3 separate regions of the Homo sapiens genome follow, and regions 2 and 3 are each linked to region 1. Evidence: promoter capture Hi-C in 16 types of primary human blood cells and fetal thymus (Javierre and others, 2016). All regions are on one chromosome and are shown on one strand. Each heading gives the region's core, a stretch centred on a gene start or on the middle of the fragment in contact. The rest is flanking DNA. Distances are from core to core; before and after follow the strand shown.

Region 1 (2,606 bases), core at 59-2,558:
TTAAATTCCACCAAGAATCTTAATTAACTGCAAGATTTGTATTCCTGAACCAAGTTTAAGTAATATTCTGCATTCACTCCGATTTTCTTTTATTTGATTGCAACCGCTAATATCAACATCGCTATCGCCCCTCTAAAATCAAACAAAAACCTACCCAATGATTGGCATCTAAGAGATGATAAACATACTAAAAGGGAAAGAGCAAGTCATCAGTGAAAGAAAGTCATTCACTTTTCTCCTTAAACCTAGTACTATCACTATTACTTAAGATGGAGCTAAAAACAGTTTCTACGTCATAATTTTTTTTTAAAGGTTGCAAGGTGGGAAAGATTTCAGGAGTTAAAATGCAGAACTAAATATACACATGCACCTCACCCCAAAACCCACCTTAACAAGCAGGCACGTAAAACAACGAGGATCCCACCCACCCCTTTTTAATTCATGAAACAAAACCGCAGCCTGAGCTAAAGCGAACCCTCGCCCCCGCCCAGCCTCCACCCCGCCCGGAGGCTGGCGGTGGGTCCCTTTCCTTTGTGAGGAGTTGGAGGGGAGGCGACGGAGGGCGGGGAACTGGGGGAGGAGGCTGAGGGTCGGCGGATACCAGAGAAGGAAGGCTCCGAGAAAAGCGGCATCAGCCCGTCCCACAAACAGGCCGCGCCGCCACGCCACAAACCATTGCGGTGTCCCAAGGCGCAAACCCACGAACTTGGGTGTGATCTAATTTGGGACGACGCCCGGGAGAATGGCCGAGGACGACCCCTCTCCCAGGCCCTTCCAAAAGGTCTCCTGGGGCGGCGGGCGGAGGTCCTGCCGCCACCCCCATCCCGGCCCGAGCCCCAGGCGGCCTCACCTGCTGGACGGAGCTATTCTCGGGCACGGCGAATTCCTCCTTTTCCTTCGGGGTCTTCACGGTGACTTTCATGATTTTGGGCTCCGCGGAGGCAGCGGCCGCGGGGGCGCCAGCACCTTCGGCTCCGGCGGCGCTATCCTGGGAGCCCGGAGGACCGCCGCTTTCACCACTCTCGGCCATGGCTGTGGCGGCGGCGGCGGCGGTGACTCAGGCAAGCAGGAGGGAGCAGGCGAGCAAGGAGGAGCCAGCAGACACCAGAGCCGGCAGGCCTGGACAGCGAAGAATGCAGAGCACGCCGCCTCAGTAGCAACGGGCGCAGGGCCACCGTAGCGGGTGTGGGGCCCCGGAGCTCGGTGCAGGCTCTGGCGCAGGCCCGGGTCAGGCGCTCGGCAGCCGCCGTGTGTTCAGGCGCCGCTCGCTCACACCGACATCCGCAGCAGCCACCGCTTCCTCCTCCCTGCCCCTTCCCCCACGTCCCTTCGCCGGCGCCGCGCGGAGCACGCCGGGTAACGCGCCTGGCGGCGTCGCCGAGTCATCCCCGGCTGGCGCGACTTTGAGCTCAGCCTGCGTGCCTTTTCCTTTCCCGCTCCATTGCCCAAAGTGCAGGCGAAGCCAGTGTGAAGGACTAAAAGCAAAATGGGGCGGGGTAGGTCAGTTCATGGTTTTTTTCCACTCCTTTCACCAAAAACTAAATCGCAGTTTCCAGTTAAGCGCTGTAACGGCGCACCGAGATGACGTCACGGTTAGCGAAATTACTAGAAAGGGACCAGTGGGCCCTGCGGCCGCGGCTGCGCCTGCGCGCTTGCTGTCCAGGTAGTCTCCCCACCTTACCTCATGCCCAGCTGGGCCGTGTTCACCCCTCCGCGCTGTCACAATCGCCTTGCCCTCCCTTGCCTCTCTGTCTACTCTGCGTTCCCCGCTGGGAGGAGGGTCTGGTGATAAAATAGCGGCGAGGTATTTTGTTATTTTAATATGCTTAGCGTTTGATATTTGGAGGGGTCGTATTGCCCTATGCGGGGGAGTTGGGGTAAGTTAATGGTGGAAAGGCCTCAGCACAACGAACAGAAAATGGAGTGAACGCCCGTGACTGCCCTGCGCAATCCTGCGGAGTCATTGCTTCATGGCCAGAGCTTATTTACCGCCCTCGGGTTAGCCCGGTTTGGTCAGACGATCAGTCAGGCAACCTGTATTGACAGTGGCCTCTGCTGCTACGATGACAGCTGTGCGCGAGCGCCCCCAGATTATCTGTGTGTAGGGCGGAACAGGGTGCCCGAGGAGTGTCCACCCAAATGGGACAATTTAATATAGTTGAGGTGTTCGCCTTATATTCTATCAAATTAAGTTACTGGTCAATTTCAGGCTTTAAGTGGCATTAAGGATAGTTCCAAAATTATTTTCAGTGTAATACAGAGAGAAATTATCTCTGAGAATCCTAATTTGAAATGACGTCATTGGCTTTTAAAGATGACTTGCAAGGAATGTACAAACCAGCCCATTATTAATCAATGTTGCACAATTTAAATCCTGACAGCCCACTATGACCCAAATCCGCAAAGATACATTCTGCCTTTCTGCTCCTAAGCCGTCCAACCCTGTTCTGAGAATAAATACTGTTACATAAACACGACTTTTTAGCAGAGCTCTATGGAATCTGGGTCTAAGAGAATCCTGAGGGTATCGATTTCAGTATAGACATCATTTGATATCACCTAAATTTCTGGCAGCATGGCTCAATAACAAGGCCTTCTGCTTAATG
Region 2 (2,606 bases), core at 54-2,553, 2.6 Mb after region 1:
TCTTCTCACATTGTTGAATAATACCCTTCCTTATTAAGACACAATTTTGATAAAGAAATTTCGATCTCTTTAATGAGATCCTTTTTAGTTTATACTTTCAGTTGAATCTCTCTAAACTAAATAATGTTATACCGAAGCTTAATGCTTCCTATATGAAGATTTTCAAGGGATAGAAACTGAATAATTCTTTACTTAATAACTGTGAAAGCATATACCTGTATGTCATACAGCAAAAACATGCAAACTTTTGAATTACCTCCAATAAAAAAATAGCAAAATGCATTTCCTATTCAAATACACTTAAAAGCAACTTCTTTAGTTGCTTTTATAAGAATACACATAAAATAAGAAAACATATAAAAGTTTTTGTGGTCAGCCAACAGTTCCTTTTAATGTCTAGTTGCAAATTTTTGATCTATAAACTTTCTTTTTAAAATGCTTTTCAGCCGGGTGCAGTGGCTCACACCTGTAATCCCAACACTTTGGGACGTCAAGGCAGGCAGATCATGAGGTCAGGGTATCGAGACTACCCCTGGCCAACATGCTAAAACCCCAACTCTACTAAAAATACAAAAATTAGCTAGGTGTGGTGGCACGTGCCTGTAGTCCCAGCCACTCAGGAGGCTGAGGCAAGAGAATTGCTTGAACCTGGGAGATGGAGGTTGCAGTGAACCAAGATCGCACCACTGCACTCCAGCCTGGGCTACAGAGCGAGACTCCATCTCAAAAAAGAGAATAATAATAATAAAATGAAATGGTTTTCAAGATCAACTTCTACAAGACTATAGGTAACAAAATTAAATACCCACATCCCACCTGGACAGTAATACAGAAACACTTAAATATACACAATTTTTAATAAAGAAAAACACAAATCAAAAGCCCAGAAATTATCAAGAAATATTCGGCTCCGCCGTCAGGATTTCAGGTCCAGCGAGGCTGAGTTAATGGCCAGAGTAGCAGAGTCCCCAATTTTAGTTCTACTTCCTCATTTACCGCGCTGCATAAACAGGTCTGTGGAAATTTAACCTCTCTGAGCTGCAGCTGCCTGATTTGTAAAACTGTGATTCCATTTTTGATATATTACAACAGAGTACTGCATCAGATAATTCCTCAAGCTATTTCTAGCTTAAAGATTTAAGTTTTATGTCTCCCTACTACTTAACGCCTTTATAACACTTCATTCTGTTTCTGCTACTTGATATTAATATATACTCTTAATTTTCAAATTTAAAAATATCTGAGGGCCAGGCGCGGTAGTTCACGCCTGTAATCCCAGCACTTTGGGAAGCAGAGGCAGGTCGATCACTTGAGGTCAGGAGTTCAAGACCAGCCTGGCCAACAGGGAGAAACCCTATCTCTATTAAAAAACAGAAAAATTAGCTGGGCATGGTGGTGTGCACCTGTAGTCCCAGCTACTTGGGAGGCTGAGACATGAGAACCGCTTGATCCTGGGAGGCAGAGGCCACAGTGAGAGGAGGTCACATCACTGCACCTCCAGCCTGGGTGACACAGTGAGACTGTCTCAAAAAAAAAAAAAAAAAATCAGGCTGAATGTGGTGGCTCACGCCTGTAATCCCAGCACTTTGGGAGGCCAAGGTGGGTGGATCACTGGAGGTTAGGAGTTTGAGACCAGTCAGGCCAACATGGTGAAACCCTGTCTCTATTAAAAATACAAAAATTAGCCTGATGTGGTGGCATGTGCCTGTAGTCCCAGCTACTTTGGGGGATGAGACAGGAGAATCGCTTGAACCCAGGAGGCAGAGGTTGCAGTGAGCCAAGATCGCGCCACTGTACTCCAGCCTGGGTGACAGAGCGAGACTCCGTCTCAAAAAATAAAATAAAATATAAATAAACAGATCTGACAACTAGAAGTATCTGTGAAAAAAGAAAAAAAATCAAGTAGCACATTTCCCCCCATTTAATATTAATAAGTGCTTGAGACTTTCATTTTTATCCTAAGACCTTGTAAAGATAAAAGACGACCTTTTGGCTTTTAAGTATTCTATACGCATGGGACACAAATTCAAACACCTTATAGGTAACCAGTGTATGAACTGGCCACTGTGAGATAACATGAAGAGAAAAGGCATCGGGTGATCTAGAAAGTGTCCATATTCCCTGAATGCATTTAAACTAAAAAAATTTATTTAAAAGTGCTGGCCAGTTTGAAACACATTCTATACAACCACTAAAAAACGCTTTCAGCCACTAAACTTACAAGTCCATGTTTCCAACTGTGATATTGTTTCATTTTTTCCATCCAATTTGTGACTTTATTTCATTTCGGTATATATCTCCCATTAGATAAAAATAACCTTCCTGTTTGCAGAAATCGTTGCCACATGGATAAAATCTACTTTTTACTTTTAGAAAAACATATTATCTCCTTATTATCCCTTTGGGGCAATTAACCAAGCATGTGAGGGCACCGAGAAATTAGTTTTGGTCTTACTGAAACCAAACAGCAAAGCTTGAATCTATTTCTGACTTTCTAAACTTGTTTCTCAACCTGTTTGTCACGATCCCTTTTGAAAAACAAAGATCTCAGATTATCCATCTCGGGACACTGACACTACATCCAAAAGATATATCTCTTGTGGCAG
Region 3 (2,606 bases), core at 1-2,500, 2.0 Mb after region 1:
GCCCGCCGCCCGGTGTTTTCATACAAACCCCGGTGGCAGGCGAGGCGGAGGCGGCGGCGGCGGCAGCTGCGGCGGCGGCGCTGGAGGCGGCGGAACCTGTCCGCATCCCGGGCAACGTCAGCGCGGCGCCCCGCCCACCGCACGCCTTGCCAGCCGGCTCCCAGCACGCGCAGGGAGTGGGGGCGGGGCGTGCGAGGCCGCGAAAGGGGCGGGGCGGAGCGCACGCCCTCTTCCCGCCGCGTCCCTTGTTACCTCCGTGCGCGCTGCGCCCCGCCTCTCTGCGCGCCTGACGGGAGGGAGCGCGCGCGTGGGGGCGGAGCGCGCACGGGAGCGGGAATTAGGGGCGGGTGTTCCGCGCGCTGCCGGTCCCTTGTACCCAGCAGCCCCGGCCACCGCCCCTCCGTACCGAACTGCGAGCGACTCCCCACGTTCTTCAAGTCATCTTTCTGTACACTCCCAACGAGGGCCCCAGCCTTTTCCCGGAACTAAGCCCGCGCCCACCCCCTCCCCCGCCATCAATCAGTCACTTTCTTAGGAAGGGTTCTTAAAGCTCCCCACGTGATCCCGGGGTCGCATCAAACGCTGGGGACTGCGGTAAAGCTTAGACCTTTCCTGACCTCAAGGAGGGTCCATAATAAGAGGCTGGAAGGGACATGCTGTTACTACAATCGGGCTCCCAGAAAACAACAGGATTGCACCTTGTGGCCAAATCTCAGTAAATTAGATGCCTAGTGCTGCAGCGAACAAAATAGCATGCTGATTTACTGTTTTTTGAAAAAGTGCCTGCATATAATCAAAACGGTAATGCTAAGTTGGCTACTGAAGGCAAAGGCGGAATGTTTTATCTGAGCCAAAGTAATGTGTCAGAGAAATTACTAATACACCCCCTTCTGTTTTGACTGTACTTCAGTGTACTGCAATGTATTGCAAATAAATACTGACATCATTTACTTTTTCACGTTGCACAAGAACATGTTTGCTACTGTTTATGGTAAGGAATGTAATATCACAACTAGATAAGGGAATGCATTGAGAACTGTGAGATTTTTGTTTTGTTTTATGATCTTGTTCAAATAAAATTAAGCAGGTGTGAAAGCAATTCAAAAAGTAACCCAAGGTACACCACAGTGCTTCTTACAGTTTGCCCTTGGTAGATGTCTTTATTCAGATGAACAAGAAACTGCCATTTTATAAACATCGTAGTTTCCCTCATCGTGAGCACTAAAAGATAGGTTACGGTATTTAAAATAATTTTGAAACAACCACCACCCCAAACCACCCAATCAGAAACGTATTATCTGAAAATACCCAATAATAATGTAATAATTTTACAATAATGCTAAATATGTATGTAATATACCTGAAACTTTTCTTAAAGAACATGTTTCTAAATGAGTCAACCTGCAATATAGGAAGATATTATGTGGATGTGTGTGTTTGTGGAATTTGAATCCCACTTTCACAAGCACTGTTAGCATAGTTTGATGACCACAACACAGACCCAGGAGATTAACCCACACAAGATAAATAGCAGCATTACATAGCTTTGAAATGATTCCAATCACATAGTTTGCCACAAGAGTGAGTGATTTATGTTTTGCGGTAATTAAGAACTTAGAGCTACTCCCCCACCCCCTGGGAATGTGACATCACTCTTCATCAGATCCCACGTGTATGAAGTTGAAATAAACTTCACCTCTCCTAGCTAATGTGACGTTACACCTTATCAAACACCATATATATGTTACTGACCTCAACTACAGGATTTCGAAATACATATAAACTCAAGAATTTGCAAGATACTTTGAGAGCTCAGCGGGTGGCAGATCGCGTGCTCTGTCAGCCACTTCCCTGAACGCTACCAGCTCAGGCTGCAACAGGGCCACACCCTGTTAGCCTTTAAGCTTTGAAGCCTGTCCACCAACACTGGCACAGCCCTCTAGCATCGTGGGACCTTGCATATCCTCACCGATCTCCTGTATGTTGGACACCATCTCTCCCGAGAACCTCAGCCTCCAAAAGGTAAAGGTACACCTCAGTTGTTTTTCTTTTTCTTTTTCTTTTTCTTTCTTTTTTTTTTTTTTTTGAGACAAGACTCTCACTCTGTTGCCAAGGCTGTAATACAGTAGTGCAATCATGGCTCACTGCAGCCTTGACCTCCCAGGCTTAATGAATCGTACTACCTCAGCCTCCCACTGAGTATCTGGGACTACAGGCACACGTCACCACACCTGGCTAATTTTTTTAATTGTTTTTGTAGAGTCGGGGTCTCCCTAAGTCACCCAGGCTGGTCTCAAACTCCTGGGCTCAGCAGTCCTCCTGCCTTAGCCTCCCAAAATGCTGAGATTACAGGCATTAATACCACACCCACCTCAATCCTTAATCAGACTTTACTTTCCACAGAGGTCTGCTTCAATCTTAATTGAACAACTAGGTTTTAATAGTTTTGGAACTCACTCACTATGTAGTTAATAAACATCATCTATGGAGTGTATTCCCTGTGAAATTATTCTCTTAATTCTCTGCCTCTATACATTGTGAACCTAAGAAAATAAATTATCTTCACATGGCAATAAACCATGTTGATCCAGGATTGTTTCCTCCTT

Evidence for each region. The method cuts DNA at HindIII sites, captures the fragments that hold promoters and counts their contacts. A CHiCAGO score of 5 or more calls a contact.
Region 2: a contact is called between a fragment that was not itself captured here and the fragment with the promoter of UBQLN1 in region 1, in 1 of 17 cell types (activated CD4 T cells). The highest score is 7.0, in activated CD4 T cells.
Region 3: a fragment that was not itself captured here is called in contact with the fragment with the promoter of UBQLN1 in region 1 in 2 of 17 cell types (non-activated CD4 T cells and naive CD8 T cells); the score reaches 8.2 in non-activated CD4 T cells.

The regions. Positions count from the first base shown.
Region 1 is chr9:83,706,650-83,709,255 of GRCh38, forward strand. It overlaps UBQLN1 (ubiquilin 1), which reads right to left and starts at 1,309. Exons shown (of 11, transcript NM_013438.5): 1 at 851-1,309. The coding sequence starts at 1,030. UBQLN1-AS1 (UBQLN1 antisense RNA 1) reads left to right here and starts at 1,186. Exons shown (of 2, transcript NR_135839.1): 1 at 1,186-1,663. RefSeq lists enhancers at 332-1,222, 990-1,059, 1,223-2,111. The HindIII fragment of the contact is 7,028 bases long and covers 1-2,606 here.
Region 2 is chr9:86,349,606-86,352,211 of GRCh38, forward strand. The region is part of intron 2 of TUT7 (terminal uridylyl transferase 7); the gene reads right to left. Among named protein-coding and RNA genes, the nearest start is that of TUT7, 3.5 kb to the right of the region's middle. The HindIII fragment of the contact is 2,336 bases long and covers 136-2,471 here.
Region 3 is chr9:85,741,857-85,744,462 of GRCh38, forward strand. AGTPBP1 (ATP/GTP binding carboxypeptidase 1) reads right to left here and starts at 98. Exons shown (of 26, transcript NM_001330701.2): 1 at 1-98. RefSeq lists a silencer at 1-421. The HindIII fragment of the contact is 1,304 bases long and covers 599-1,902 here.